2 separate regions of the Homo sapiens genome follow, and region 1 is linked to region 2. The links are contacts of gene promoters, found by promoter capture Hi-C in blood cells and fetal thymus (Javierre and others, 2016). All regions are on one chromosome and are shown on one strand. The core of a region is centred on a gene start or on the middle of the fragment in contact, and the rest is flanking DNA. Distances in the headings are between cores, read along the strand shown.

Evidence for each region. Contacts are between HindIII fragments. The CHiCAGO score rates a contact against its expected background, and 5 or more counts as called.
Region 1: a fragment that was not itself captured here is called in contact with the fragment with the promoter of IRF2 in region 2 in 1 of 17 cell types (naive B cells); the score reaches 5.0 in naive B cells.

The regions. Positions count from the first base shown.
Region 1 is chr4:184,434,741-184,437,440 of GRCh38, forward strand. All of the region lies in intron 1 of IRF2 (interferon regulatory factor 2), which reads right to left. Among named protein-coding and RNA genes, the nearest start is that of IRF2, 38 kb to the right of the region's middle. The HindIII fragment of the contact is 810 bases long and covers 1,040-1,849 here.
Region 2 is chr4:184,473,189-184,475,888 of GRCh38, forward strand. It overlaps IRF2 (interferon regulatory factor 2), which reads right to left and starts at 1,362. Exons shown (of 9, transcript NM_002199.4): 1 at 1,191-1,362. It overlaps IRF2-DT (IRF2 divergent transcript), which reads left to right and starts at 1,614. Exons shown (of 1, transcript NR_186573.1): 1 at 1,614-2,700. RefSeq lists silencers at 1-440, 521-570, 1,381-1,500 and enhancers at 1,531-1,720, 2,071-2,400. The HindIII fragment of the contact is 7,048 bases long and covers 1-1,484 here.

The DNA of each region.
Region 1 (2,700 bases), core at 195-2,694, 38 kb before region 2:
ATCCCCCATGAAGTTGACAGTACTATCCATGATTAGTGCTATTAACAGTGAGGTTGAATTTTCACCCAAATAACTGAATTTTGGTTCTTGGAATAGTAAGAGCAACGGTTACCATTTACAGAGCACCTACTATGTGCTGGGCATTAAAACTAGGGTTTTCTTGCTAGGTGTGGTGGGACACACCTGTCTTTTCAGCTCCTTGGGAGGCTGAGGTGGGACAATCACTTGAAGCCAGGAGTTCGAGGCTGCAGTGAGCCATGATCACACCACTGCATTCCAGCCTGGGTGGCAGAAAGACAGCCCCTCTCTAAAAATAGAAAATAAAAAACCTAGGGTTTTCTACAAGTTTTGCCATTTAACCCTTACAACCCTAGGACATAGGGACTTTATTATCCTTTATTACCTGCTAGTAAGTGGAGAGCCAAGACTCTCATTTAAATTCAGGCCTATCTAACGTGAAACACCCAGGCTTATCCACTCTAACCTCTGCCTTCATCGTACTTTAGAAAGCACTGAGTTATGAAGACCTCTTAATTGTTCTACTTACTGAGACTTTCCAAACTCCTCTCCGTCTTGCAAACCACTGACAGTCATCTTCCTAAAATACCATTTAATCATGTTAATTCTCTGTTCCAGAGACTTCTAAATGTGCCTGCTGGATTTAAGGTAATAAATTCCTTAGCTGAGAGGGGGGTGGTGCTTCTGGTAATGGTACAGTAGGTAATTCAGACCTGACTCCCAGGCTGAATAACTAAGAAACATGGACAAAATATATTTTTAAAATCCATTTAAATGCATCAGAGAGCTAACAAGGTAGTTAAAAATTAGGGGGGCAAGATCTAGGAGAAAAAGAAACCCAGGAAGGTGAACCTGACATTTAGGGCTGCTGTCGTCCTAGCGCAGGGACAGCTGCTCCTTTCTGAAGAGGAGGCTGTGGGGCTTTGAAAGCAGAGCTTTTGACACACTCAGGTGACTGAGGAGACAAAAATTGAACATCAGGATGCAGCTAGGAAAAGGGGTTCCTGGAAACACCCTCACAAGCTTTGTAAGTAATACAACTAAGTAGAAATAAACTAATATCAAAGGCTGAAGCCCAGCTTTGAATCATCTCAATCCCTGATCTAATGAAAATGACCTGGAACTACCAAAAGTAAATAGAAATCAGATCTTGAGGAACATAACATTACCCTAGGATTCATATTATCTCTGGAGCTTTTCTTTTTTCTTTTTCTTTTTCTTTTTTCTTTTTTTTTTTGAGACAGAGTCTCGCTCTGTCGTTGGGCTGGAGTGCAGTGGCTCGAACTCGACTCACTGCAACCTCTGCCTCCCAGGTTCAAGCAATTCTCCTGCCTCAGCCTCCGGAGTAGCTGGGACTACAGGTGCCCACCACCATGCCCAGCTAATTTTTGTATTCTCAGTAGAGACAGGGTTTCATCATGTTGGCCAGGATGATCTCAATCTCTTGACCTCGTGATCCGCCCACTTTGGCCTCCCAAAGTGCTGGGATTACAGGCGTGAGCCACTGCGCCCGGCCATGGAACGCCTTTTCTTATTACCCAGTCACCCAATGGATCAGCAAAAATTCATTAAACACACATTGTTACAAGGAACTGTGCTGAGTGCTGTGGGGGATTCAAAGACGGTAAGACATGATCACTACCCTCAAGGAACAAATAAGTTAACTGAGGATGTGAGAGATAAATCACATAAAGCTAACTAATAATCCTATAATTATAATAATAAAAGACTATGCAATAAAGATCAGAAGGTAGTGTATTATTAATTGCCAACTAAGTTAGGTAGTTCATAAGGAATACATAAATCATTGTTAAATGGGCATATAAGAGAAAGCTTTATGGCAAAGGAAAGCTTTATGGTAAAGGAAGACCTTAATGGATGGGGAGGTGCTGTCTAGGCAGGGAGAAGGTGGCAGGCAAGCCAGGGGAGGTAAAAGGTTGGTATCGGCGGCCAAAGCAGGACTGAAGATGTGTTTGCTGATGTGAGCAGAGCAACTGTCTTATGCACCAACAGGGGTGTCTTCATAAGAGTCACTGGTGTGTGAGAAGCAAGCACTGGGTATTTCACATCAATCATCTTTAACTCTCATAACAGCTCTAACCAGTTAAATACTAGTATCCCCATTTTATTTTTTCATTTTATTTTTGAGACAGGTCTCACTCTGTCACCCAGACTAGAGTGCAGTGGTGCAATCCTAGCTCACTACAGTCCTGACTTCCTGGGTTCAAGAGAGCCTCTCACCTCAGCCTCTCAAGTACCCAGGACTACAGGTGCATCCACTACACCCAGCTAATTTTTTGTTTTTCGGGTTTTTTGAGATGGAGTCTCGCTCTGTCACCCAGGCTAGAGTATAGTCGTGCAATCTTGGCTCACTGCAACCTCTGCCTCCCGGGTTCAAGCAATTCTCCTGCCTCAGTCTCCTGAGTAGCTGAGATTACAGGCATGCGCCACCACGCCCAGCTAATTTTTTTGTATTTTTAGTCGAGACGGGGTTTCACCATGTTGGTCAGGCTGGTCTTGAACTCTTGACCTGATGATCCACCTGCTTTGGCCTCCCAAAGTCCTGGGATTACAGGCATGAGCCACCGCGCCTGGCCTAATTTTTTAAAATATTTTTGTAGAAACAGGGGTTTCACTACCTATGTTGCCCGGGTTGGTTTGAACTCCTGGCCTCAAGTGATC
Region 2 (2,700 bases), core at 112-2,611:
ATGTCACCCGGCGCCCGGAGCCGGGTCGGAGGGCACGGGGCGGGCACTCGCGTCCCCACCCCGCCGCGGCCCGCGCCCCGGGACCCCGAGGGGACGCCGGCCCCCACTGCGCCGCTCGGTCCCCGGAGGCTCCCCGCCCCCACCTCGCCCGCTCCGTAGCCGAGGCGGGTCAGGCCCAGCGCGCGAGGCCGGCCGGGGGCGCCTGCGGGGACCCGGGGGCGCACGGCGCTAGGCCGCGGCCCGGGCGGCTGACCCCTCGGCACGGTGCCTTCCTGGGACGCGCCGCCCGAGCCCCTGGCGCGCTGGGACAAGTGCAATGACAAAGCCCCAGGGCCCGACCGGGCGCTGGCCGGCGGGAAGGAGGACGCGGCGTCCCTTCTGAGCGGCGGCGGCGGCGGCCCAGCCCCCAGGAAGCAGGGCGCGTCGGCCAGGCCCGGCGCCCGGCCCGGCTCCGAGCCCGCCCTCCCGCCCCGGCCGCTGGCACCCGACGCCCGCGACCCGACCCCGAGCCCGGCAGGCAGGCGAGCCCCTGGACCGCCGCGGGGCGCCCCAGCAAGTTTCCTCTGGCCGTGGCTGGAGGCGCTCCTCCCGGCCGGGGAGCGGTGCCTGCTTATTTACGCTGGAGGCAGCCTGGAGAGGCGCCGCCGCGGGCACCGAGAAGGACCCGCTCCCCTCCTTCGGATCCGGTGGCGGCGGTGGCTGCACACACACACACGCGCGCACACACAAACACGCACATACACACAATTTTGTTTTAAATGAGGCCCGACTCCAGCTGACCTGCACCCCCACACACAACACCTGGGGCGCAGAAGCACACACAGCAGGTCTGTGTCCATGGAGCCACCTCTCCGCATCTGCAAATCCAAAAGTGAAATTAAACCTCCACCAACCTCCTCCTCCTCCTCCCTCTCTACCTCCTCCTCCTCCTCCTCCTCGCAGCCTCAGCAGCCCCAGTAGCAGCAGCAACAGCAGCAGAACCTGCTTCCCCTAAAATCAGATGATCCATAATTGCGCCGACTGTTCCTCCAAAAATCAGTATTAATATTTATGAACCCCGGCATTTTCCGTCTGCAAAACATCGTGTCAAGGCATCAGGACACGCATACACACACGGCCCCCCACAGTCCCCAGAAACATGCCCTCGAGAGAAACACACACAGTCACAACTATTATTTGAAAAATGTTACCTCTCAGTGTGCTTTTTTCACGCTACCAATACAATTCCGCAAGGTATAAGTGTTGCTAGGGTATGTGAAATGGAAATGAAAGCCCGTCAGTTGAATAATCGCAGGAGCAAAACTAAAAGTTACTCCCCGGCTTGCCTGAGAACAGTCCAGATCGAAAGCAAAACAAGGAGAGGAAACTGCGAAGAGCCGCGGCTGGAAATCCCCCCACCCCCCGCCCTCCTCCGGCCGCGCTCCCTCCCTCGCCTCCCCTCTCCGCCCTCCTCCCTCCGCCCTTCCTCCCCAGTGTTTGTTTCAAGCTTGTGCAACCGGGAGGTGGAGGCGGAGGGAGGGCGCGAGCGGCCCGGCCGGGAGGTGCGGAAGTTCGCCGCAGCAGCTCATTGGCGGGCAGCGCCGCTTTCATCATTTCTCGGAAAAGTCAATTTCATTTTCGCTTCCCCAGGTCGCGGCGGCGGGAGCAACAAGCAGCGGCTCGTGAGTCCGCGGCTCGCACCCAGGGGCGCCCGCACGTGCGGCTAGAACGTCCGAGTCGGGGTCCGGGGCGGGGGGCGCAGGCCCGCGGCGGTAGGGGAGGAGAGCGGGCACCCGAGTCTCCATCCTCAGGGTGGCCTGAAGGTTCCAGGAGGGCGTCCGGCGAAGGCACGGGGCTGCGACCATCCAGTTAGCAGGGCTGGTGTGACTGTTGAGAGTAAATGAAAATTCGTTTTGTGACACCGACCACCTCCAAGGAATGAAAGGAGCAGTCAGCCGAAACGACAGCATTACTTGCGTCCTTACCTAATTGGAACCTTATCCGTGGCTGAGGGTGCCACCATTGGAGGGGCCGCCGCCCCCTCTGACACCACCTGGCGCTCCGCTCCATTTAGGAGCTAGAACGAAAAGGAGGCCCATCCCCCAGTAAGTCACAGCCCACGCCAAGATGAGTTCTGGAGCCTGTGCGACCGAAGTTTCTTCACCGCAGGGCGAGGTGGACAAGGGTGTGAGTTACTTTGACTTCAAGACGTCTCAGTGGCGGCTGGTTCTGGAGAGAGGCTTTATGCTGGAGCACTTCCAGCAAAGTTCGGCTGGGGCCTCCTTAACTCACTGGCTGGTCACCCTTGGCCTCGGTTTTCAACCAAAGCCTAAGGCCTCAGTTTTCAACGCTGTAAATGGAAATAAATGAGAGAAGAAAGTACAGCCCGTGTGACAAGTGCAGCAAGCAATGCAACTTCCTTGGGACCTACCCTTTGTGGTCCCTTGCTTTAAAAGTATAGATTCACATTTAGTTAGACCTGTTTCTTCCTCGCATGCAATTTCACCAGTCTTTTCCCAGACTTCTGTACTCAACAGAGGAAGTTCCTTCCTGGGAGACCATAGCTGTTTGTATGTAAAGAGTTGCGAAAAAACAAAAGCAAAACAAAAAACTCCAACACCTCTCTGTCACAGAAGTATTGAATTATATAGACTGGAAAAATGGAAGTATCCAAGAAAACGCGTGTGGTAAGAAAATGGCTAAGGTGCAGGATTCTGTTTT